Regions from separate parts of the Homo sapiens genome. Here regions 1, 3 and 4 are each linked to region 2. Evidence: promoter capture Hi-C in 16 types of primary human blood cells and fetal thymus (Javierre and others, 2016). All regions are on one chromosome and are shown on one strand. Each heading gives the region's core, a stretch centred on a gene start or on the middle of the fragment in contact. The rest is flanking DNA. Distances are from core to core; before and after follow the strand shown.

Evidence for each region. Contacts are between HindIII fragments. The CHiCAGO score rates a contact against its expected background, and 5 or more counts as called.
Region 1: a fragment that was not itself captured here is called in contact with the fragment with the promoter of STAT5B in region 2 in 1 of 17 cell types (fetal thymus); the score reaches 5.5 in fetal thymus.
Region 3: the fragment with the promoter of ATP6V0A1 here is called in contact with the fragment with the promoter of STAT5B in region 2 in 2 of 17 cell types (neutrophils and fetal thymus); the score reaches 9.1 in neutrophils.
Region 4: a contact is called between a fragment that was not itself captured here and the fragment with the promoter of STAT5B in region 2, in 3 of 17 cell types (megakaryocytes, erythroblasts and fetal thymus). The highest score is 6.9, in megakaryocytes.

The regions. Positions count from the first base shown.
Region 1 is chr17:42,472,640-42,479,341 of GRCh38, forward strand. ATP6V0A1 (ATPase H+ transporting V0 subunit a1) reads left to right here. Exons shown (of 22, transcript NM_001130021.3): 6 at 5,021-5,103; 7 at 5,824-5,950. Among named protein-coding and RNA genes, the nearest start is that of ATP6V0A1, 17 kb to the left of the region's middle. The HindIII fragment of the contact is 5,083 bases long and covers 2,787-6,702 here.
Region 2 is chr17:42,274,944-42,281,534 of GRCh38, forward strand. It overlaps STAT5B (signal transducer and activator of transcription 5B), which reads right to left and starts at 1,448. Exons shown (of 19, transcript NM_012448.4): 1 at 1,305-1,448. RefSeq lists a silencer at 1,081-1,690. The HindIII fragment of the contact is 9,010 bases long and covers 813-6,591 here.
Region 3 is chr17:42,454,482-42,460,726 of GRCh38, forward strand. ATP6V0A1 (ATPase H+ transporting V0 subunit a1) reads left to right here and starts at 4,397. Exons shown (of 22, transcript NM_001130021.3): 1 at 4,397-4,482. RefSeq lists an enhancer at 4,017-4,106 and a silencer at 4,257-4,466. The HindIII fragment of the contact is 8,228 bases long and covers 2,260-6,245 here.
Region 4 is chr17:42,514,790-42,521,555 of GRCh38, forward strand. It overlaps ATP6V0A1 (ATPase H+ transporting V0 subunit a1), which reads left to right. Exons shown (of 22, transcript NM_001130021.3): 22 at 6,238-6,766. The coding sequence ends at 6,331. Among named protein-coding and RNA genes, the nearest start is that of MIR5010, 4.0 kb to the left of the region's middle. RefSeq lists an enhancer at 1,818-2,317 and a silencer at 2,761-2,810. The HindIII fragment of the contact is 3,596 bases long and covers 1,670-5,265 here.

The DNA.
Region 1 (6,702 bases), core at 4,078-6,577, 200 kb after region 2:
CTTGAACCGGGGAGGCGGAGGTTGTAGTGAGCTGAGATCGCACCACTGCACTCTAGCCTGGGCGAAAGAGCGAGACTCCATCTCAAAAAAAAAAATTGTTTTTAACTGCCTCATCTCAGAAATTTTTCTCTTTTGAGGGGAGATCAAATATCCAGAATTCTCTAGACTGGAGCAGGGGTTTTTCAAACAACAGCAGCAGACTCACCTGTAATCTTGTCAGAAGTATGAATTATCAGTCTCCACCCTAGACTTACTGAATCAGACACTGTGGGAGTTAGGCCTAGCAGTCTGTATTTACTAGGTGATCCGGAGGCATGCTAGTTTGAAAACTGCTGGGCTAGAGAAGGTCTGCTGAGGATGTGATACATTCCTCACTAATTTAAGGATTTGACTCAGAAGCCATTTAATTAAAAGGATCTGCTGGGTCAAGGGAAAGGGGAAAAACTCATATGAATTTAATTGCCTGGTCCTTTCAAGAGTCAGAAGGTACAAATATTTATTTAGTTTGCTCACAGAGTCGAGAATTTTGAGACTAGTGGTAACTTCTTTCGCCAGTCCCTAATGACATCACGTTAGAGGGTGTGGGACAGTGTGATTAACTCTAAGTGTTTAAGGTCTTTTGCAATAGGCATCGCCACTTAAGCTGTATGTTTTTAATGAACCTGGAATTCCAGCATGCTCACTGCCCAGACGTTATTGTATTTTTGTTCACTAATTCACTGAGCATATAATGAGCACCTACTTATTGTGAGACACAAGATGAGTAAGACATGGTCCCTGTGTTTAAGGAATGTATCATTCAGTCTTAAGAAATACCCCAGAACATGACGCTTTCATATGCTCACAGATGTGTGCTTTTCTAAACATATCCAAGCTGCTACCCACAGATCTGATGTAAACCTGGCCTTGTAGTCAGAGCTCAGCTACCTTTTAGCATTATTTGGAGCTTAATTCTTTTACCTTCCCTGTCCCCATTTTTTTCCCTTTTGATATACTGTTTAGTTTACTGCTGAGATATTGCTATCTCATATGAAAATGTCTTTCAAGACCTCGTAAGTTTAAGAATGAGAGCCAGCTTCCTATTATGGTTCATTTTTGGAGAAATTCCGAATAAAGACTGATAGATGGATTCCCTTAAGGGAAATAATTATTTAAACTATTAATTTTCTAATGAAAAGAACTTAGTAAAAATGAAAATAAGAGGAACCACTTGGAAAAATGATATTTTAAAATCATAATTTATGGATTTAGGACTTTTATTTTGTGAATAATAAGTCTAAACACTAAATGCCTGTTTTGAGAAGGCAGACTCTAAGTCTTCATGATCTTTGTGCCCTTTTCATGCTGGGGTTGTTTTCCCTCTCCTATTTTTTTTTTTTTTGAGACAGAGTCTCGCTTTGTCATCCAGGCTGGAGTGCAGTGGTGCGATCTTGGCTCACTGCAACTGCCGCCTCCCGGGTTCAAGCGATTCTCCTGCCTCAGCCTCCCGAGCAGCTGTGACTATAGGTGTGTACCACCATGCCCAGCTAATTTTTGTAGTTTTAGTAGAGACGGGCGTTTCACCATATTGGCCAGGCTGGTCTCGAACTCTGACCTCGTGATCTAGCTGCCTCAGCCTCCCAAAGTGCTGGAATTACAGGTGTGAGCCACCGCACCCAGCCTCCCCCTCCTATTTTATTCAAAACTTTTTTTTTTTTTCCAGTCTCTGGAAGTACTTAGAGCACAAGACCGTGGCTATGAGAGGTTCTTATGCTGCTTTTGTCATCAATTCCCCTTCCATTCCCAGCAGTCTCACTGCATTGCAAGTCTCCTGGCAAGAACCTCTCTGCCTTGCCTGTTCTTGCACTAGCTCACAGCCTCAGCCAGGTTCCTTTCCATAGACCTTGCCCTGCTGCTGCGTAGCAGCAGGCTCAGGTGTCACTGCCACAACTTTGCATCTGCACATGCGCGTGCACTTCAAATAATGCGAAAGATAGGACACTTGGGACCCTCAAATGTTGGAAACTTAGGATTTTTAATGAGATTTTCTTCTGTGTCTGAAATTATAATATTTGCAAAGGGCCTAAAACACTACCAGTTTTAAACCCCTTATTTTGTGTAATTTGGTGACTATAATCAATAATTCACAGTAATGAGTTAGCAGAAATGGCTAAATCAGAAAATGATTCTATATTTAGGCATAGGAGTTATGATTGGCAGGGTGTGTGTAAGGTGAAAAATAAACATATTGAATAGTCTTATGATTAAAGATGATTACAAATTTGACTTAGTCATTTCTTATCTAGGGCATTTAAAATGACTTGTTAATGATTATCCTTTTCTAAGTCTTCTTGCTTATGAAGAACTGTAAGAGCTGGAGAGATTTCTCTGCATCTTTTACCATAAGCACCATAACATATGAGAACATAAAGAAGACTGGAAAAGTAATGGTTAATGGCATGCAGATTCCCTGCTTTCCTTTCCTTCTCAGTTTTCCATCCATCTGCTTTCTTTATTTTTTTCCCATCTGCCATTTCCTTTGGGGCCTAGGTGAATACCTTAAGTAATGAAATATAATTTTTTTCTCGATGTAGATGGCAGTAATTGTTTGTTCTTGGTAATTGACATAGCTTGAACTGGATGTGCTATTTATACTTAATTGCTGTAGAAACAGAACTGAAGTTCTTCTACTTCCTTTTTGTAAGGCGTGGTTTTCAGTATCTGAATGGAGAAACCAGAGGGCATAGCAGTAATGTAGAGGCATATTCACAATGTTGTTATTAGAGAACCCAGATACCCTTAAGACAAGCTTGTCCAGCCCATGGCCTTCAGGCCTCAGGACAGCTTTGAATGTGGCCCAACACAAATTCGTAAACTTTCTCAAAACATTATGAGATTTTTTTGGAATTTTTTTTTTTAGCTCATTAGTTATCATTATAGTGTATTTTATGTGTGGCCCAAGACAGTTCTTCTTCCAATGTGGCCCAGGGAAGCCAAAAGATCAGACACCCCTGCTCTAAGATTTAGATACTTTCAACCACATGGTTTTAGATACTGCTTTAAAGGCCTTCAGTTAGTGAGTGGTTCTAGTCATCCTAGTTTCTCACCAGGCACAATTTTACTTAAAAATTTGTAACTTTTCTCTCTAAGATAGAATTCTTAAGTATGAAGTGGTGAAATTAGCAATTCAAATATTATCGCAAGTTTCTGTTGAATTTTAATTTTGTTGTTTTTTATTCTCAGAGAGTCCTAGATAGAGTCTTTGAAGTGGTCTAGTTGCTAAGTACTGTTTGCTTTTCCATCAGTTAGAGCACATGTGTTTGCATTGAGTCCGATATTTAGGGTTGACTTAAACCACGTCTTGTGAGACAGGCAGGCAAGTAGGATGGAGTCTTGTGAGTAGTCAGGCTCACTGGTTTTTGCCAAGGGATAAACCAAGAACAAGTTGAAATGTTGTAATCATCGGGATCCTGAAAACAAGTTGCTTGTAGTCAGCTGATTTGATTGCAAGTAGAAACCGAAAGAACCCCCTCAACTTACATGTAACAGCCAGTGGTAACTAGTGTCTCCATGATCTCATCTTAAACTTTTCCAATCTCATGACAGTATTTCTCTGCACTTCTGGTGTTGATCCTTACTTCCCAAAATGATTGCTTTCTATTTTTTAGGCCTTCAGACTTATCATCTGGTTTATACACAGTTTTTCCCCCTTTTTGCTATGTTTATGATCCCATGACTTTATCAAGTTATGGTCCCTGTGCCACTTTTTAAGAGTGTGGCTGACAGGGGTAGAATCAAATTGAAATTTGGAATGAAAATGATAGAGAAAAACTCTTCTGATTTTTTGTCTTATTGTGCTTTTGAAGAGGATGATTGTTCTGGTTTACTCCTAGTTTTTGGTCAAACAAGTATTGCCTGGGTATTAGAGTTGGGGAGATGAGGCAATGGAGAAGTTGATTGGACTGGTTTTTGTTTTGTTTTGTTTTGTTTTGTTTTTTGGAGCAGCTTCTCCTTTCTGATGGGAGTAAAGGGTGGTAGGATGAGTTCGGTAGAGAGAGGCTAGGAAATGTAGACCTGCGTGTGGGAAGATCCTTCTTCATTTCATTGTATAAACTGTCATGGTGGAAGTCATTTTAAATCTTACCAATTAAACCAGCCCATGAACTCTAGTTTGGTTTATTATCTGTTGTTTTTCCTTCACTTTACTTGATTCTTGAGCTGTGTTCTCAAGAATCCTACAACTGTAAAGCCTATGTGAACTTATTTAGAAGATTCCTAGTCAGAAAATGGGACATTCAGATATGTTTTTACAGGCCTGCCCAGCTATTGTGCTTCTTATCCTTTTGAAGACATAAATACTCTTTAAATCCCATGGCTTGGATCATTCTATAAGTGGCCATGCTGAAAGTTCTCATATTCTGAATTTTAAAGGGGCTGGAAACGTAGATACCTGGAGCTTCCCCTTCTGTCTTTCTCCAGACTTCACAGCATTCAAAGACAGTGGCAGTGCCTTGCTTCTTCCTTGGAAAGAGAGCCTCTATCTTTCACATTCTCACGTAGGGAAAATTCTAGTTTGTAGCTGCCTAGAAATTAAATGTTCAGAGTATCTGCAGAGTCTCTTCATTATTGCACAGAAAGAAGAGATATTTTAGCTTCCTATCTACATGCAGAGGTATTTCCTGGCACTTTCATCATTCATTCAGGGAAACGTAGGAGAGAAAATGGCTTCCACCAAGTAACAGATTTATACATGTCACCATCACTTAATTTTTTTTCCTTTTGCTCCTTATTTCTAAAACCATTTCCCCAGATGCTTTACTGGGGCAATTATGCTTTCTTTACCTCAAATTTATTTTCTGTGTTTTCATCCCCTATTCTTCTTGTCTTTTTATGGATATATCTTGTCTTTTCGTGGTTTGTTTTCTTTTTCATCCTTATTTTCTGAACCTGTCTCCTGGTTCCTCGTTGCCTGCATGCCACTAACTATTTTCATTAGATATTAATTGATTTGTGAATTCAGGCTGAATTGCATCATCAGCAGATGGCGGATCCAGACTTGTTGGAAGAGTCCTCATCCCTCTTGGAGCCAAGTGAGATGGGAAGAGGCACTCCTTTAAGACTTGGGTAAGTGCCATGTCAACTTTTCGGTATTCAGTGGGGCCATGTTCATCTCTTCTGTTCAGAAGAGCAGTGAGACTGGGGATTCACTTGCTACCAGGATATGCCCTCTTCTGAGCCTATTGAGATAGTCCTACAACTCTGGATTCATGCCTGAGTTGCTCTGTCAGCTCTCTGCTGGGTCCATAAGTGAAGCTGGGAATAAGACTTGTATTAAACCAACCCAAATGTCCATCAATGATAGACTGGATTAAGAAAGTGTGGCACATATACACAATGGAATACTATGTAGCCATAAAAAATGATGAGTTCCTGTCCTTTGTAGGGACATGGATGAAGCTGGAAACCATCATTCTCAGCAAACTATCACAAGGACAAAAAACCAAACACCACATGTTCTCACTCATAGGTGGAAATTGAACAATGAGAACACTTGGACACAGGAAGGGGAACATCACACACCGGGGCCTGTTGTGGGGTGGGGGGAGGGGGGAGGGAGAGCATTAGGAGATATACCTAATGTAAATGACGAGTTAATGGGTGCAGCACACCAACATGGCACATGTATACATATGTAATGAACCTGCACGTTGTGCACATGTACCCTAGAACTTAAAGTATAATAAAAAAAGATATATATATAAATATAAATAAAAAAGACTTGTATTAAAACCTTCCATCCCATGACATGGAATAGAGTTTCCAATCTGCCTCTTCTCCCCACAGCTTCGTGGCTGGTGTCATTAACCGGGAGCGCATCCCTACTTTTGAGCGCATGCTTTGGCGGGTATGCCGGGGAAATGTGTTCCTGCGACAGGCTGAAATCGAGAACCCCCTGGAGGATCCTGTGACTGTAAGACAAGGAGATTGCATCCTGTGGAGTAGGTCTTGTAAAGGGAGCCCAGAGCAGTAACGTAGCATGGGGCCACCTGAATCCAGTGCTTCCACAGAGGAGCCATTATCTTTATCTCTGCTCTAATTGGAGAATTTGAAGTACTTCCTCTTAGTTAATTCCTGTCATATATACATATGGATGTATGATGTATACATGACATATACATATTTTCAAGTTTACCCGTGTAGATGTTATTCTGATTGGAAATTTTTATTTTCACTCATTTGCCTTTTATGAAAATTAACTTTAAAGCAAGACATCTGGTTCCAAATTTGGTAATTTTTTTTTTTTTGAGGTGGAGTCTCACTCTGTTGTCCAGGCTAGAGTGCAGTGGCGCGATCTCGGCTCACCACAACCTCCGCTTCCTGGGTTCAAGCGATTCTCCTGCCTCAGCCTCCCGAGTAGCTGGGGATTACAGGCATGTGCCATGATGCCTGGCTAATTTTTTCTGTATTTTCAGTACAGACAGTGTTTTACCATGTTGCCTAGGCTGGTCTTGAACTTCTGATCTCAAGTGATCTGCCTGCCTCGGCCTCCCAAAGTGTTGGGATTATAGGCATAAGCCACCATGCCCAGCCCCAAGTTTGGTAATATTCATGTATAAAAAGAGAAGGAGAGATTTCCTAGACTGTGATCTTAATAAGCTGATGAAATTTTACTTGGTAAAGTTTTTTTGTTTGTTTGTTGGAAGGATTAGAAACTTAGTTTAA
Region 2 (6,591 bases), core at 198-2,697:
ACATAAGCCCAAGTATGATATTCAGTGTCACGCTGGCCCTTTCAAAGGGCATTCCCTGAGGACACTGCAGAGAAAATGTATGGAATTGTATCTAGGCAAAGATCTGTATACTGCACGATGCTTTGGGAAGAGCACGAATCTCAGAGTCCTTGAAGTTTCAATCCCTGGATACTCAACAAACAGCCGTGTCACCTGAGCAGGCCACTTACTCCACCTATCTGGGCCTCAGTTTCCTCATTTGTACAATAAAAGAATGGCATCATCGCTGGGTTCCTTTCCAGCTCTAACATTCTTTGACCCACTTTTGGCACTATTTATTTGATACGAGGTATGGCGGGATCACAGGGACCAAGAAGAAAAGAACTGACTCTGGCTCTTTGGCAAAGAGAGAATCGGTATCTCTTTTAGTCTTTAAAATTCTTGTGCTTTTCATTAATCCCGTCTTTCTAAAAGCTGACACTTGGTTTTCTTCTTTGGCTTTTCCATCACTGCTGGCTACAAGTGTTTGCAACCGCCTCTTGCTCCGTGTGAGTTCTTTCCTCTTTGTTCACCCCGACCATCTTGCCAGATTCCTTTAGCCTCAGACCAGCTTTTGTGATACAACTCCCCTTCCGACTCTCCATATCTACCCCCCGACACCAGGAGCACTTTTAACCCTTTATCCCTGACTAGAAAGAAAAAGCACACTGCATCCCACGGCCACACGCACGAGCCCAGGCCTGGCGGGTCCTGATGTGGGATCCCGCCCCCCAGAGTCTTATCGAAACGTTCGTATTTGTTGTCTTGATTCCTTATAAGGCCCTGTTTCTTGAAGCTTTGCTAATACCCCCCACCGCACCAGGCACCCCCGCAGGCTCATCCCATCCCCGGAGTCCCGGGAACCTCTTTTGAAAGAAAGAAGTTAAAGCAAGGAAGACGGCTGGGGATATTCGGAATTGCAACGTGAAGGTGTGAGGCGGCTGACAGCAGCCCCCTGAGCTCCTATGGGGTCGGCGCGGGGTCCCCACACACCCACTCAGCACACGCGCACGCAGCCTTTAAAGCGCACGCCCCCCGCGGCGCCGCGGCGTTCGCAAGTCCCCCTCGCGCACCCCGCATTGCCCTCAGCCTCCCCGGCAGCCAACCCGGACCCCCTCTCCCCGCGCGCGCCCCTCGCCCAGCGCGCAACCACCGCGGCCCGGGAGTGATGGCGGCGGCGCGGCCCTGACGGGCGGCTGAGCGGCTGGAGCGCGGGCCCCGCCCGGGCTGGCTCCCCGGCCTGGCTCCCCCGGCCCCGGGCCCAGGGCTCGCCCCGCAGCTCCTACCTCGCTCGGCCCCTCGGGCGCCCGCGGCTGCTCCGGCCCAGCTGTCTGGCTTGCCCGCCCGCCCGCTCGCTCCCTCCCTCGGCCGGGCCGCCGCGCGGAGTTGCCTGCGCTGGGTCCCCGCCCGGGGTGACGGCTCCGGCCGCCGACTCTCCTCCCGCCGGGGCCCGCGGGGGCGCGCGCGCCGCTCACGCGCGGAGGCCCAGGGACGCGCGCCGCTGGCAACCCGGAGCGCGCCCCGCTTCCTGGTTCCGCCCGGCGCGCGCTCGCTAGCCCGCTGTCCCTCGCGCCCCCTCCGCGACCGCCCTTGAAGGACCCGGACCCCCTCGGCACACCCGAGGTGGCGGCGCGCTCGGCGGTGCCGGTGCCGGCGCCGCGCGCACCCCCTTTCTGCGGCGGTGGGGTGTCTTCCCGGCTCGGCTCCCTAGCCGACGCCGCACCGCAAGCACATGCTGCTTTGTTTGGGTTGGGTCGACCACCACTAGCAGGGCTAGGGCGCACTGTCGTGGTCGTTTTGGTTGGCCCCCTCCGCGGCCCGCCCACCTCTCTCCCTGGGAGCCCAGGCCCGCGTTCCGGGTCCTCTCCCGCCGAGGCCGAGGTCAGAAGTCCACAGGGGCCCCGATCAATAATTATCCTGGGTTTGCCCCCGGGAGGGCGTCTCAGCCAGGGCTCCTGCCGCCTGCATGGGCACGGCAGGAATTCACATTCGCCCAGGCCGAATTCACCTGTCCGAGTTCCAGGGTGAACCTACGGGGGACGGGGCGCCTGGGGCCGGTTCCCTTCCTGGGAAAATCTGGCTGGCTCCCACCAGTCAGAGCTGCGGGAGGGACTGCTCTCTCTAGAGAAGAAAGAATAAACAGGGTCATCTGTAGGATCCAGGGGAAGGGGGTCCCCCAGATCCTTTCCACGTGCTGAGGAGGGGGTTGCGGTTGTGGGAAGCCAGGCTGAGTCACCCACTCTCCTTTCCTCTGCTACGTCTATCTCCCGGAGCTGGCCAGCGGTTTCCCTGGCAACCCTCCAAGGGCTAGCACTAAAGCAAGACATAGGAAAGCTCCAGAAGCCAAGCTGCAGGGGCCAAAAGAGAGAGAAGGACCCCTCCCGCCCCCACTCAGACACACAGAGCTCCCCTGTGTGTATGCAAAACGTTCATGTCCAGAGATGGCCCAGAGCTGCAAGTTCTCCCATAGTCCTCCCTGGGCAGCTCTTTCCAGCGGCCTTCTCTTCACCTCCAGAATGACACCAGCCACAAAGGTCTCCAGCTGGTCAAAAAACCCTTCTCCGCTACCCAGGCCACTGCTGCAGTCCCATACTCTGGGCCAACACCTGGCACAGTGCTTTGCACAGAGTAGGTTCAGGGAGCTTGGAGGCCAGAGAAGGAAGCAGGAAGCAGGATGGATGCGCCAACCAACCCCGAGCTCTCTGGCAATCTCCCTGACAGTTACTGCCCATGATGTTTTGACACTCAGGTGCTCCATGTTCTCCATATTTCTCTTTTATCTTTTCTTTTTCTTTTCTTTTTTTTTTTTTTTGAGACGGAGTCTCTCTCTGTTGCCCAGGCTGGAGTGAAATGGTGCGGTCTCAGCTCACGGCAACCTCCACCTCCTGGGTTCAAGTGATTCTCCTTCCTCAGCCTCCTGAGTAGCTGGGATTACAGGCGCACACCACCACATCCGGCTAATTTTTGTATTTTTGTAGTAGAGACGGGGTTTCACCATGTTGGCCAGGCTGGTCTCGAACTCCTGACCTCGTAATCTGCCCGCCTCAGCCTCCCAAAGTGCTGGGATTACAGGCATCAGCCACCGCACCTGACTCATGTTTCTCTTTCTTGTGAGCTTTCATCCCTGCACACATGCTATTCCCTCTGCCTGGAATGTCCTGCCTTCTTGATGTCTGCCCTTCGGTGACATTTGCTTCAGGCAGCATGACCTCCCTCCTTGTTTCCCACCGCGTTATTCATGCCTCTATTACAGCACTTCTTGTGTTGAAGGACAATTTCATGTTTTCATGTTTCTGTCTCTGTCCCCAAGGGCAGACGCAATATGCTATTCACTTTTAAATCCTCCTACTCGTGTTCAAGCCCAGAACAGACACTCAATAAATATTTTTGGAACAAATGCTATGCTCTAGGAATGCAAATGGAGGTTACAAGGACTATGCAGTCATTAAGAGGACAGGGTCTAGCCCGGTGTGGCGACACACACCTGTGGTCCCAGCTACTGAGGAGGCTAAGGTGGGAGGATCACTTGAGCCTGGGAGGTCAAGGGTGTGATGATTTTTTTTTATTTTTATTTTTTGGAGACAGTCTCACAGAAAAAGGTCTCATGGTGTGGTGGCACAATCACAGCTCAAGGCAACCTCCTGGGCTCAAGCAATCCTCCTGCCTCAGCCTTATGAGTAACTGGGACCACAGACGTGCACCACTACTCCCAGATTAATTTTTTAAAATTATTTGTAGGCCGGGCACGGTGGCTCACGCCTGTAGTCCCAGCACTTTGGGAAGCCAAGGTCGGTGGATCACGAGGTCAGGTGTTCCAGACCAGCCTGGCCAATATGTTGAAACCCTGTCTCTACTAAAAATACAAAAATTAGCTGGACGTGGTGGTGCGCGCCTGTAGTCCCAGCTACTGGGGAGGCTGAGGCAGGAGAATTGCTTGAACCCGAGAGGCAGAGGTTGCAGTGAGCCGAGATCACGAAACTGCACTCCAGCCTGGGGCGACAGAGTGAGACTCCATCTCAAAAAAAAAAAAATATTTGTAAAGACAGGGTCTCATTATATTGCCTGGGCTGTTCAAGAACTTATGGCTCAAGCAACCCTCCCTCCTCAGCCTCCCAAAGTGCTGGAATTACATTTGTGAGCCACTGTGCCCAGCCTGAAGCTGTAGTGAGCCATGATTGTGCCACTGCTCTCCAGCCTGGGCGACAGAGTGAGACCTGTCTCAAAAAAAGAAAAAAAAAAAAAAGTACAGGTTCTCAAACCAGACTCTGTCAATTCCTTGAGCTGGGTAATCTTGAGTGTGTTTTCCTCTATCTTCTCGTTTGTAATGTGGTGATAGAGACAGTACCTACCTCATCGGGTTGCGGGAAATAAGTGTTTACTACATGTAAAGTGCTTCACTGTAAAGCACTGTATAGCGGTTAACTACTACTGTGGTGTTTAGTAGCAGCTAAGATGAATACTCCTCTTCCCAAGACCGGCGGTCTAGGACTCAAGCCAGCTGGTTTGTGGCAGCCACAGGGCGCTAGTTTAAATGTCCTGAAGGGGGCCGGGCGCAGTGGCTCACGCCTGTAATCCCAGCACTTTAGGAGGCCGAGGCGGGTGGATCACCCGAGATCGGGAGTTCGAGACCAGCCTAACCAACGTGGAGAAACCTCGTCTTTACTAAAAATACAAAATTAGCTGGGCATGGTGGTGCCATTACAGGATTACATGCCTGTAATCCCAGCTACTTGGGAGGCTGAGGCAGGAGAATCACTTGAAACTGGGAGGCGGAGGTTGCGGTGAGCCAAAATCACACCATTGCACTCCAGCCTGGGCAGCAAGAGCAAAACTCCATCTCAGAAAAAAAAAAAAAAATGTCCTGAAGGGTGGGTGGGAATGCCTCTTGATTCTTGCAGCTCTAGGCACATCTCTGACTGATGGTCACCAGGCACCAAGCTAGACCTGGCTGGGTGTGTGCACAGATGCTGAGGACAGAATGTTCTGGGTCACTACCTCAGCAAAACAGAATGTTGTCATCCTGGGATGGGAAGGCCTGACACCTGCTTCTCTGCTTGACAGTTCTGATGGGGTGGGACCCTCTTCTTCTAGGCCTCGGGGACATATTCCCTTAAATTGAGGGGACACCAGACTTAAGACATGACAGAAAGAAAGAAACTGAACAGGAAGCTAGGATCCTGAAAGACCCCACAGTCCAACCCATCAGGAATGACCCAAGAAGGTACCTGGAGATGCAGCAATGTCCACTGGAGGGTCTCATCCCTTAGTGCACCAGCCTGACCCAGGAGAGAGGCTTGGGGGAAGAGCCTGGGGGTCTAGTCCACAGCCCTTGTCCATGCATGCCCCTGCTCCCATCCTACAGCCTCCTCCCCTCTCTCTCTCATAGATGAACACATGGCTTTCAGAGGGGGCAGCTTCCCTGCTTCACATCCTCCCTCACTCCTGCCCCAGAGATCATGAGGCCATTTTCTGGGAACGTCACTGAAGCCACAACCATGATCCCCTCTGGCCAGAAACCAGAGGCCTTCGTTATTATGGCTTCCCTCCTGCATCCCAGGAGTCAGGCTGACCCTGGGCAACCACCGGCCACACATTTGCTAAGAAAGGGCACTGTGGGAATGTCCCTTTTTCCCTGTGGGGATGAATCCTTCCATAGGGGGATAGGTCAGTACAGGACCCTGGAGCCATGTGGAGAAGGTATAGGATGCTCAACAGAAAAGAAGGCGGGGATGCCAGATCTCCAAGGCCTCAGAATGGCGTGGCCTCGGTTTGGAATGGGCTCTGCAGTTTCGGAGGGCTCTGTCAGTGCCCCTGCTTACTTCTGCCAGAGCATTGGTGGTGAAAAGTTAGATATGGTTCTAAATCCCAGCTCTGCTAACTTACTAGCTGTTGGCCGGGCGCGGTGGCTCACACCTGTAATCCCAGCACTTTGGGAGGCCGAGGCGGGTGGGTCAGGAGGTCAGGCGATCGAGACCATCCTGGCTAACACGGTGAAACCCTGACTCTACTAAAAATACCAAAAATTAGCCGGGCGTGGTGGCGGGCGCCTGTAGTCCCAGCTACTCCGGAGGCTGAGCCAGGAGAATGGCGTGAACCCGGGAGGCTGAGGTTGCAGTGAGCAGAGATCGCGCCACTGCACTCCAGCCTGGGCGACAGAGCGAGATTCCGTCTCAAAAAAAAAAAACAAAAACAAAAACAAAAAAAAACTAGCTGTGTGACTTTGGTCTAGGTACTTAATGTCTCTGAGGATCTCAGTTTCCCATCACGTGTAAATCATAGTTAGGGGGTAGAGTGTAATATATGTTTCAAATCCACAGAATCCTTCCGTGCATTTAAATGCACAAAAGACCCCAGCAACTGTTGTTGCCCCTCCAGAAGGGCCCTGGGGGACAGGAAAGGGCAGAGACTAACTTTTCACCACATACCCTTTTGAATCTTTTGTTACAAAATACATATATCATGTGCAGATGCTCCCTATTAAAACATTAGTAAAATAGACAGTTTTTTTAAAGGAAAAAGGAGAGCATTTGTGAAGGCAACTAAGCACTGTGCCTGGCACTTGATAAAAAAGCA
Region 3 (6,245 bases), core at 3,147-5,646, 180 kb after region 2:
CTAGCCTGAGCAGTATGGCGAACCCCCGTCTCTACTGAAAATACAAAAATTAGCTGGGCGTGGCGGTGCACACCCGTAATCCCAGCTACTCAGGAGGCTGAGGCAGGAGAATTGCTTGAACCTGGGAGGTGGAGGTTGCAGTGAGCTGAGATTGCGCCACTGCACTCGTCTGGGCGACAGAGCAAGACTCTATCTCAAATAAAAAAAAAAAGACATATAGAAGAAAGAATACCATGTGACGATGGAGGCAACAATTGAAATGATGCATCTATAAGCCAAGGAACACCAAGGATTTCTGGCAACCACCAGAAGCCAGGAAGAGGGAAGAAAGGATTCTTTCCCAGAGCCTTTGGAGATACCATGCTCTGCAGACACCTTAATTTCAGACTTCTAGCCTCCGCTGTGAGAGAATAAATTTCGGTGTTTTTGTTTTTTTGAGACAGGGCCTCACTGTGTCACCCAGGCTGAAATGCAGTGGCTCAATCACGGCTCCCTGCAGCAGCATCAACCTCCCTGGCTCAGGCTCAAGCCATCCTCCCACTTCAGCCTCCTGAGTAGCTGGGTCTACAGGCACGTGCCACCATGCCCAGCTAATTTTTTTTTTTTTTTTTTTTTACAGACGTGGGTCTTGCTGTGTTGTCCAGGCTGGTCTCAAACTCCTGGGCTCAAGCCATCCTTCTGCCTTGGCCTCCCAAAGTGCTGGGATAACAGGAGTGAGCCACCGTGCATGGCCGATTTCTGTTGTTTTTTGTTTTTTTGAGACACAGTTTTGCTTTTTCATCCAAGCTGGAGTGAGGTGGCGCAAACTTGGCTCACTGTAGCCTCTGCCCCCTGGGTTCAAGTGATTCTCCTGCCTCAGCCTCCCAAGTAGCTGAGACTACAGGCGCCCACCACCATGTCTTGCTAATTTTTGTATTTTTAGTAGAGATGGGGTTTCCCCATGTTGGCCAGGCTAGTCTCGAACTCCTGACCTCAGGTGACAGGCTGGCCTCGGTCTCCCAAAGTGCTAGGATTACAGGCGTGAGCCACCTCGGCTGACCTGATTTCTGTTGTTTTAAATGCTACCCAGGTTGTGGTTATTTGTATGGCAGCCTTAGGGAAACGAATACTGGAAGCCTGTGGAGAAGACACTGGAGCAGATACGTATTTCAAAACACCGGGCTTAACGTTAAAACTCTCCTCTAGGCCCCATCTAGGAATCTAAGTGGGATAAGCTAAGATGAGCTAGCTGATTCTTCACTGGTGGAAATTTGGACAATTGACACGCATTCATTCAAACTAAAAATTAAAGATAAAAAACCACATTTAATAATTTCACTACAGTGACAATTCTTGTAACATTTTGAGACTCTATCAGTTAGATCCCTACCTCTGTTCTATTCTTTTTGTGGTAGTGAAGAACTAATCTTTATAACTGTTTTTTTTTTTTTCAGACTCAGTTTTGCTCTTATTGCCCAGGTTGGAGGGCAATGGCGCGATCTTGGCCACTGCAACCACCGCCTCCTGGGTTCAAGTGGTTCTCCTGCCTTAGCCTCCTGAGTAGCTGGGATTATAGGCATGCACCACCATCCCCAGCTAATTTTTTGTATTTTTAGTAGAGATGAGTTTTCACCATGTTGGCCAGGCTGGTCTCAAACTCCCGACCTCAGGTAATCCACCCGCCTCAGCCTTCCAAAGTGCTGGGATTACAGGCGTGAGCCACCACACCTGGCTTTAATTGTTTTTTAGCCATTTTCACAAATGCTAGGGAATAGCTCGGTTTAGATACTCGGAACTGTGTCACTGGCCAAGCCTCATATGGAATTGCTCATGTCTTCTAGGGCTGTAGGTGTGGTCAACAGCATTTTAAATTTGATCTTATTGGACATATGCCTCAGTTTTACCATATCATCTGTTATATGGGGATAATAATAGTAACTGCCTCCTAATGTTGTTGTGAGGATTAAATGAGTTTGTATTTACCAAGCATGTAGAAAAGTGCCTGGCACATAGTAAGTATTAATCACTGCACTCCTCTCTCTCTTGCCATTTGGGAAGTTTCTTTCTCACTGAACCATGAGCTCTCCAAGGATAAGAAGCATGTCTGTTTCATTTTCTATCCCCAGCACCTAGTACCCCTCTCTGGCACACAGTAGGCCCTCAGCAAGCATCTGCTGCCTAAAAGGCACTATCAAGCAGGCAGTATGAAATTCCATTTCTGAGTCTTGAAGAAGGAAGTCAGGTGGAAAAACAGATAAGAGTCCTACACATAAACGTTTAAGCTTGACAACACTCAAGACCATCAAGGAAGACAGCATGGAGGGAAAATAAATAGAACACTGAGGAAAGATTGATGGCAGGAGATGGAAGCAAACAGAAAAGGAGTTCTGAAACAATATTCTTTCAAAGAAGCCGTGAAAAGAGTTCAAGGGAATTGAAGTAAGTCCACAGGAAAGGCTGTCTTAAAAGTGGAGTATGAAAAATTTGTGGTTAGCAAGCAGCTGACTGAGGTTAATTTTTTTTTAAGTCTCAGAGGAAGGAAATGATATTGTGTAACAGTTTTCTCTAACTTGGCAGGCTTTTAAATGTGGGTCCCGATCTGTCTTGCCAGAAGGGTTGAGAGCTAGGGAGCAGGGAGAAGGAGGGTATGGGTCTCTCCAAGACTCTGTGTCTTAAGAAGGTTGTATTGAAGTCAGGTTATATCTTCACTCACAATATGAGACAATAAATTCAAATAAAACGTCCATTTTTGTCCCCTTATTTTGTTTAGGCTGGTAAAGCAGGTTTGATGATGTTTTTGTCAGGTTGACAAAATTATCAGCAACAAGTTTTTATCTGGAATATCTCCCTCATTACACTTGAATTTCAACAGGGTTCCACCACCCAGGAAGACAGAATAACCGGTTTTCTGAGTTTTTCCTGATACAATTCTGGTTATCACAAACGACTTGAGATCCCTACTCTTCTTTAAAAGGGCAAGAAAAGGGAATCAATATCAATATTTGATAATGGCATTTAAAAAATAATAGACATCACTTTTGCGTTTAAAAAATGTTTTTCAATATTTAATTTACAAGTTGAGTACAAGCCATAAAAAATGTTTTTAAAATAAATTTGAGGAATTGAAAACTCCTAAGTGGTCAATTGAGCCCACATGAATCTACCAAACAAGACTGAAATGTACTTTCACAACATATGGTCTGATGAGGTTTTTCCTGTTAAACAGAGAAAAATAGACCCGGGGAAGTTGCTGGAAGGCATGAACCATGTACCATTTAAAGAGAGGTTTTCCATACTTATGCAAATGAGACCCCGTTAAAGACTCTACTACAGGATCTAAAGCTAGCCGCTCCCCAGTCTGGGGCTCAAATGTTCTCATCTGTAAAATAAGGGAAAAGAGAAAGGGTGGTATATGTGTCTGCGTATTAATTATTTGAGTGTGTGTGTGAATTCTTTGGATATGAAAATAAAGAGAGAAGACATTAATTATTTGGGTGCGTATGTGTGAATTAATTCTTTGGATATGAAAATAAAGAGAGGGCCGGGCGCGGTGGCTCACACCTGTAATCCCAGCACTTTGGGAGGCCGAGGCGGGTGGAGGCCAGGACCAGTCTGGGCAACATGGCGAAACCCCATCTCTACAAAAAATACAAAAATAGCCGGGTGGCGTGGTGCGTGCCTGTAATCTCAGCTACTAGGGAGGCTGAGGCAGGAGAATCCCCTGAACCCGGGAGGCGGAGGCTGCAGTGAGCCGAGAACGCGCCACTGCATTCCCGCCTGGGAAACAGACCATCTAAAAAAAAAAAAAAAAAAAAAAAAAAAAGGCCGGGCGTGGTGGCTCACGCTTGTAATCCCAACACTTTGGGAGGCCGAGGCGGGTGGATCACGAGGTCAGAATTCGAGACTCAGCCTGGCCAACATAGTGAAACCCCGTCTCTACTTAAAAAAAAAAAAAATACAAAAATTAGCCGGGCATGGTGGTGCGTGCCTGTAGTCCCAGCTACTTGGGAGGCTGAGGCAGGAGAATCGCTTGAACCCGGGAGGTGGAGGTTGCAGTGGGCCGAGATCACGCCACTGCACTCCTGCTTGAGCAACAGAATGAGACTTCAAAAAAAAAAAAAGAAAGAGAAAAGACAACCTACCCCAGTATAAGGGGTAAGAAAAAGGATTCAGGGAGGCTCAGGAACTTAAGGCCTCGAGCACCTGCACCTCCAGCCCCACCCGCTAACCCTCCCCAGCGTGGAGATACAGCACAGGGGCCAACATGGCGTCAGCACGCTGGGTCTCGCCTGCGACCCCCGTGACTCCGCACTGCTGCAGCCCGGGCGAGGCTGCGCCCCATTGGCCAACTGCAATGAGGTCATTGCGGGGGCGGGGGCCGGCGGCGGCGCAGGGGCGGGGCTTTACGGACGCAAGCACGTCGAAGCGCTGCTCCTGGAGCCGCGGAGGGTGCGGGTTTGGCTGCGGTGGTTTCTGTGGCGGTTGCTGTGGCGGAGTTTGGAGGTGAGTGGGGGCTGTAGGTTTAGCGCAACAGGGAGCGGCCCTCGATGGACGTAGGAAATCCTTCTAAGAGCCCCCTTGATTGTCAGAGGAATTAGCGGGGATCTGACGTCTTCGAGATAAAATGGGGGTTCGCCCCCTCCTTGGGCACCCCTCCTCTGCCCTGAGGAACCGGAGGCTCACTGCCCTTTGGAAGCCCCGCATCTCTTCCCTGCTTTAAGGGGTAGGCGGAGGAACCGGAGGTTATTGGATAGGCAGAAGAATTTAGGGGGCTTCTTAAAGGGTTTCTCAGTTTGGGGGTTTTCCTCTCCTTTTTTCCCATCTCAAGGTAGATGAGCCTGAGTCCAGAGAATTCCTGCTCATTGGGTAGACAGGAAATGAAGCAGGTGAATACCGTGGGAGGAGGCGAGGACCGGATGACAGGAGTGAGATTCTTCTAGGCAGGGCGCGGGGGCGCTGTAGTTGGACTCATCTTTTGCAGAATTGCTGTTTCTTCATATTTTGTTTTGTGATCGTCCAGAACTACTTTGGCCTAATTAGTTTTCTGTTAGCCTCCATTGCTATAGAGATATTCTTGGGAGACCTATAATCATTAAAGAGCAGGAGGACGGAGGCGACTCGTTGGAGGCTTATCATTATCCACAGCTCCTGAACTATGCTGACCAGGCCTAATTTTATGTGTTTAGAGGTTGTAGAATCTCTCTTTGTTTAAGGGTGGTGCCGGTAACAGCTGATTTGGATGATTCAGATGTACAGAATCTTAAAGTCAGCCTGCATATTCTCTTGAGAAGTCCTTGCTTATGTCTGAGCTTGTGTTACTGTCTTGAACATCACATGCACAAAGGTTTGTTCGTTCAGATTTCTCAAAATGTCTCCCAGCCTTCCAGAAGAGTAAATCTTCCTTTGATGTCAGACTCATCTATCAGTACTCAGTATAGATGCCCTTATGACACTAAAAATACTGTGCATTTTTCTGAGTTTGGATACTGGACAGGCTGTGCCTTACATTAGCTGATCGAGAATAAATAATTGCAGTTTCAGGACCACTGATAGCGCCAGTTGTCTCATACCCGGCAACAGTAAGACAGCACTAAAACGAAACCTTTATTGGCTCATGAGATTTGACAGATGGAAGAATGTAATTAATCTTGAAGGTAGGGTTGAGAAACAGAAAGCTGCAGAGGTGGAAGGCTTATTCTCTGTGGCTTGATAAAACTGCTTTGTCATTATCAGTGTGTTCCTGTCATGCTTGATTTGAAATTGAGCTTAATATGCAAACTGGTTGCTTTTTCCAGATGACGGTTATTTGTTTGAATTCCTAAGTGGGGAAATATTGTTTTCTGAGGAATCTGGAAGATTAAACCCTTTAGTGTAGCCATAGCTTTAGGATAGTGCCAGAACTTTGGGCTTTTAGAAATGCGCATTGTCAGTAGAAGGGAGAAGGATAGTTACAAGGCAGACATCTTTATGAGAGGGTATTGAAGGCCTCTTCTGTTTGTTTCCTGCACTAGCAAAAACAGATTGAGCAGTGTGAAACTCACTGCCTCAATATTGTGTCCTGGGTATTTAAAGAGTTGTTTGAGGTTCCCAGTTCCTGTCTTTAATCTGGATACATTCTTATCAGTTGAGTTGCCCAAAATAATTGTCATTTGATCCTGATGTTGACTGGAATGGAAGTGACTTTTCATCTGACACTCTGTGGGACAGAATTCAGGAACTGCCTTTGCAATTTCTCCTTTCCATCTTTCTAGACAGGGTGTCAAAAA
Region 4 (6,766 bases), core at 2,218-4,717, 240 kb after region 2:
CTCTGATGTGTAACTCTTCTGTCTTCAGAACAGTGGAAGCAGCTCTGGAATGTATGTTAAGTGCAGGAAAGGCTAGAACACGCTGCACCCCAGCTTTATCCTCTTTGTTCTGTCATTGTGCCAGGGGTCTTTGAGTTGGACCCCTGGCAGCTCCATTGTGGACCGGAGGGATTCCTGGCTCTATAGGGTGGAGGTCGGTACACTCACGCAGCTTCTTCACATGGGCAGGTTTGGGGTGGTTCTGTTTGTTTTCTTTAATGAAGCTTGTGACTCTTAATGGCTGTGTGTGGAGAGAGCATGAGTTCAGCCTCTGGGACTGGGAGAGCGGGGGTGTGGTCTGGGCTGTGACCACCTCAAACCAGCGTTGCCAGATGTAGCACATAAAAGTACAGTTTGGCTGGGCACGGTGGCTCATGCCTGTAATCCTAGCACTTTGGGAGGCTAAGGCAGGTGAATCACCTGAGGTCAGGAATTCGAGACCAGCCTGGCCAACATGGTAAAACCCCGTCTCTACTAAATATACAAAAATTAGCCAGGTGTGGTGGCACGTGCCTGTAATCCCAGCTACTCAGGAGGCTGAGGCAGGAAAGAATCTCTTAAACCCAGGAGGCAGGGGTTGCAGTGAGCTGAGATTGTGCCACTGCACTCCAGCCTGGGCAACAGAGCGAGACTCTGTCTCAAAAAAAAAAAAAAAAAAATAGGGGAGGGGTTGGGGGCCAGGCACGGTGGTTCACTCCTGTAATCCCAGCACTTTGGGAGGCCGAGGCGGGTGGATCACCTGAGGTGGGGAGTTCGAGACCAGCCTGACCAACATGGAGAAACGCTGTCTCTACTAAAAATACAAAAACATTAGCCGGGCATGGTGGTGCATGCCTGGAATCTCAGCTACTTGGGAGGCTGAGGCAGGAGAATCGCTTGAACCCAGGAAGTGGAGGTTGCATTGAGCCAAGATCGCGCCATTGTACTCCAGCCTGGGCAACAAGAGTGAAACTCGGTCTCAAAAAATAAAAATACAGGGTGTATTTCACATAAACAACAAATAATTTTTTTAGTATGAGTATTTCCCAAATGTGCATGGGATATGCTTATACTAAAAACTGGGGCAGTCTGTATTTTCTGTGGCTGTTCCACCTCAGACTCCACTTCTTTGGGTCTCTATTTTCTCCTTTATGTTGTGATTCTCTTTTTGGGGGTCTCAAAACCCCAATGTCTCTGGAAGTTCTGGCCCCTCTCCCCAGAGGAGCACTCACACACTTCTCCTGTTTTACAAGCATAGGGGTCTGACTCACTGGTGTGCCTTAGAGGCCCCTGGATGGGATGCTCTGTGGTGTTCATGATCTCAAGGCCAGAAGAGGACTATGAATGTCTCTCTTCGTTCTCAAAACCTGAAGAAAATCCAGCATCTGAACCTGAGAAACTCATTCCCCACTCCCCTTTATCTTTGATTATTCTCATGGCTGGGTGACCCCTGAGCCTCCTCAAAGATTCAGCTGTGGGTTTTTCTGAATGATGGGCGGAGAGTGAGGCATGGAAGGGCAAGACGTGGCTAGGGTGCACTCTTCTTCAAAAGCCCTGCTGCGTCAGTAGACCTGGCTTCCTCTGGCCTGGCTCTCTCCCTCCTGGCCTCCCTCCTCCCCACCCAGCTCATCTGGCTGGCCTCCCTGTTCTAAGCTTATCAGCCGACCCCCGCAAGCACACTTCCTCAGCCCTCCTCAGTGCACGAGAACCTCTGAGGACTCACTTTTTCTTGCCCCTTGGCCTCCTTTCTTTTCTTTTCACTCCTGTCTCTTGAGCCCTGGGTTTGAGGGAACAGTGACCACCTCACCTTGATTCCAGCCCACGTGGGTAGCCGGTCATCTCCCTGGGCAGGGCGGGAGCAAGGCACTGTTGCAGAGCAAGGCCGCCTGGGCTTGAGCCTCATTTTGTTGCCAGAAGATTGCTTCCTCCTCAGGCTCACCTGTGGCCTCCCCGTGTCTTCCCAGGTCCCCCTGAACTGAAGTGATGAGTGGCAGGACAGCAGGCTCCGGAATTGGGCGACCTGGGTTGGAATTCCAGCACTGTCACACCAGGCAGGGAACCTGAGCAGAACATTCACTGCCAAGATTACTGTGAGCAAGTAGGAAGTAATGCACACACCAAGTGCTGCCACAGCAAAAGCAGGTGCTCTAGGATGGGTAGTGGCTGCTCTGCTTAAAAGTGGGATGCCCTTACTGGGTGCGATGGCTCACACCTATAATCCCAGCATTCTGGGAGGCTGAGGCAGGCAGATCACCTGAGGTCAGGAGTTCGAGACCAGCCTGGACAACATGGTGAAACCCCATCTCTACTAAAAATGCAAACATTAGCTGGGCGTGATGGTGGGCGCCTGTAATCCCAGCTACTCGGGAGGCTGAGGCAAGAGAATCGCTTGAACCCAGGAGATGGAGGTTGCAGTGAGCCAAGATCGCGCCACTGCACTGCAACCTGGGCGACAGACCGAGACTCCGTCTCAAAACAACAACAACAACAACAACAACAAAAAAACCTGGGATGCCCTAGAGAGAGGGTGTCTGCCTGGGGTCCCCCATAAAAAGACTGCTTTTAGCCTGTCTAGAGTGAGAGAAGACCCCAGAGGAGGCAGAGGATACCATCAGAATGCCCTCAGGTGCTGTTTGCAAGGAACAGCCTCCCCATATATGTCGTATTTATTTTGGCAATAGGAGTATTGGGTAGGAGAGGAAAAAACAGTGCAAACCTCCTTTGTGCAACTTCCAGAATCTCGTCTTTGGAGGGCTGTTCCCGTGACACGAGTGGGGCGCCTCCCCCACCACTAAAACAGAAGTGAATGAAATTGGTGCTTGTGCGCCCCCTCCTGGCAAAATGCGGCTGTGCGTCCAGGATGCCTGGATCTTCCCTGTGGCCCAGGACTGCAGGAGGCGTTCTGAGCTGTGGCCCTCTTACCAGGGGTGGAGCCTCTGGGGCTGCTGAACCAGCTGTAGGGATGGTGCTGCTGTTCTTCCTGGCATCCATCCTAGGCATCTTCATACCTCCCACTTTATCCCTGCTGTTTCCTGATTCAAGGGCTGCCCCATTATACAAGTTCTGGTCTCCTCAGTGGGGACAATAAGAAAAACATTTGATTCGATAACATATAAACCACTAGTGTGAGATTCATGCAGCATCATAGGAAGGGGGGTGATGTGTTTGAAAACAGTGAGCAGGCTAATGTATTAATCTGCTAATTCTGTCTCCTGAGTTTTCTCTCTTTTCCTCCCTCCTGCCACATGAAGTGTGCTTGGCTTCTTACCTACCATAATTAGACATCTTTTCTTCCTCAGAGAAGGCATGAGACAGGGATTTGATTGTAGTTATCACTGTAAACATCAAACTGATTTTTATGCAGAACTATTGCCCCAGGGCATACCTTCCAAGGAACCTGGTCTCTCCTTACCTAGCGAATTCCACATACACATAGATGTACACCTACCTGTACACTCACAGATTGGGTGGTGATTAAAGGGACAGAATCGGGGACCAGCTTCTTGTTAGGAATGCAGTGTTGCCACGGCATGACAGCATGGAGCAGTTGAGGGAATGGCTGCCCAGGAGAACTCAGAACTCTTGAAATGTAGTTCCAGGCTGCCATCATTGCCCTGATATTCAGGCCGTCAGACAGATGTGTGTTGTAGGCCCTGAACGGCACAGAGAGTGGCAGAACAGGCTACATAAACAGCTCAGCCCAGAATTGTCTTTCCAGACTGCCTGCCCTCAGTCACAACCCCCACCAGGGAAGGGAAGCGGCCCCAAGACTCCTTCCTCCTTCACCCACTCGAGGAAACAGAGTTCCTGTTACGTGGCATGAATGATGTCTTTTGGCCCCAGTTAATCCCTCTGAGTCACCAGGTGGCCTTTGCCAAGTGCTGGAGCTGGAAGAGATGATAGAGACACTCATCTGGCGTCCTGAGGCTCTCCTCACAGCTGTTGAATTCTAGAGGTGCATTTCAGTGTCTTGGGGCATGGCAAGACTTTGGAGGCTCCCTGAGCAGAGCAGTGGAGATGCCCAAAAAGAAGGAAGAACCTAGGATGGCAGATGGGGCCCCCCTTGCCCTGGGGAACTTCATGTTTGTACTTTCTCAGGAAGCACACATTTCCCCAGTTCAGCGGGAGAGAGTGGGGAGACTAGCAGGGAAATTGCTTTCCAGCTTTGTGCTGGGTGGTTGGGGTGAGGGTGGCCACGGAAGGAGGTGAAATCAGGCTGACCTCAAGATAGACCCAAGATGTCCCAGTTCTGGCCGCTCTAAGTCTCTAAAGCAGCAGCTGGTGGGAGGGGCAGTATTGGGCAGTATGTCAGGGAGGCCACCTGTCTGCTCACACAGTACAATTGATGTGCCCCTCCCAGGCATATATCCCTCTTCCTCCTTGCTGGGCCCCCATGGGTAGATAAGGTGACTGGAGGGGTGCCAAGAAAAGGGCGGTGCCCCCACAGGCATCTGAAAACAAAGCTGCTGCTCCATTTGCCCAGTTTGAAGATTAGAATGGTTTTGTGATTAGCCAGGAGGGGGTGGGGGTCAGAGTTCTGGACACCTCACTGGAGTCGGGGGTCAGCATACCCTACCAAGGCTGACATTCACTCCTAGGTAATGGCCTGGGACCCTCAGGTGACTTGTCCACTCTCTGGCTATGTATTGTTGAATGAAAAGGGGACATGTAAATCTCGTTTCAGCTGTTCTGAAATAACCCTTGCCACATGGGAACACAGTCTATTCAACATGAAGAATTCAAACCTAACACAAGTGGGTGAGAAGCAGGAACCCACTGCTAGGCCCCACCGCGTTCCCTCAGAGGTGGTCTCAGTAGCTGGAACTTGGAGAAGTAGTTTTGGTGGGGTGTTGGGACGTGGGTGAATCCAGGTCCTGGTTTGGAATTGCTCTGGTGGGAACCGTCAGCTAACGTCAGTTGGAAGCTCTGTGTCCTCCCCCTCCTGAGTCCTGTTTTTCCTGGAGGACCTTGGCCCACCCCTGTGGAATGTGGGGATGTGGGGAAGAAAGCTGACTGCTTTTACTCCCACTCAGAAAATTCGGTTGCGCTCTTCTTCAAGGGGGTGCTCCTCAGCCTGCACCCCAGTGAAGGGGCCTCTGAGGAACTCCCAGTGCCACTGGCAAACAGTCTGTAACCTTTGGGCCCCAGCCACCTCCCAGCCCCTGTTCTCTTAATTCCTGCCTTCTTGGCTTGGAGGGAGGAATCTCCATTTGTAAAAGCTGAGTTAGGGAACTAGAGGGTTCCTGAAGCTTTAAAGCGCCTCAAAGCCCTCACCCTGCACGTGACCTGTCACCTGGAGCCTGCCCCAGCCCCCACGCCTGCCTGTTCTTATAGGGGCTCCGGTGCCTCCAGGGTCACACAGCACCATGTGGAAACTATTCCTCAGGGCAGCTCTCCTTGGCCTTTTTATCCCCTGAATCATGCATTTTTCTGCCCTTATTTGGTGTGGTTTGGTTGCTGGGCAGCTGTCCAGGGTGAGTTTGCAGGAGGAAGCACAGCCAAGCAGCCTCGCTCTGCTTATGGGACAGTCTTCCTCCCACCCTCCCTGAGAGTGAAAGGGCCCCACAGAGACCATCAGGCATGGATGCTGAACTGCTGGGAAGGGAGCTCAGGCTTTTTCTTTTTAGTCCCCAAGAGAAGAATTCTTTCTCAGATGTTTTTGTGGTTGGAGAATATTTTTGCCATTGCTTTGAGAAGACTTCCCCTCCTAACTCCCCCTCTTTCCTTGGAATTTCCTTCCTTAAATGGAAAGCCTTCAACATTCACTCCAAGCTCGCCCTTTTGCTCCCCCAAGGAAAAATAACAAGCAAACAGAGGTGCTTGCCCAGTGTCTCTGGAGGGGCTTCCCTTAGAGGTGGGCTGTGTGATCCCCTGCCAGGAGGGGGCGATGGGGGCCACTTGTTCATTAACGATGTTAGGCTCAAGGTAACTGAACTTTTTTTGCACATGCCTCTCTGCAGAGAGTTGTGCATAAACACACTGCTCGGCAGGACAGAGCAAGATTGGGAACTGAGGGCAAATCCCTTCCTCCGTGCGTCGAACTCTTGATCCCAGGCCTTAAAAGTGGGATCTCTGCACTCTGGGCTTTCTCTAGCTTCCCCAGGGAAGGGAGGCTCGGGGTGAGGTGGGCACGGGGCATCTTTCCTGCCCAACTGTGAAGTCCTAAAAAGCTTCACAAAGTTTCTATTGAATGACAGCTTTCTTCTTCTCTTTCTCCAGGGTTGAGTTCCAGAATAAATTCTACAGCGGGACCGGTTTCAAGTTCTTACCCTTCTCCTTCGAGCATATTCGGGAAGGGAAGTTTGAAGAGTGAGTCCCTGTGAGGGCCGTGTGCCCCATGCTACCCTCCCCGCCTCCCTCCACAGTGATCAGCTGTGCCTCTCTGCCTGTTGGTTGTGATCTGTGGGCACCAGCTCATTCGTGTCACCCTGTCTGTGAGTCATTTAGATAGAATAGTCCTCCTTGGGTCTCCCACCACCCCTAGCTTTGTGTGTAGTGTAGTGATTTTCTGGCTGTCACTCATACTCACTGGGCACCAGCCTTGCCCTCTTAGCCTCCATCCATCCAGACAGCCCTTCCCACCTCCTGGTGGTGAGCCAGTCTGCATTCCCACGCCATCCCAAAGCCCTTTCATCTTCCCCGTGCATTGTAGATGGAAGGAGCACCCATGCCATTCACATCTAGACTTTGAGTTCCCTGCATCTGCCACCGTAGTTTCTAGCAGGAGTAGTGGGGGGAGTAATACAGA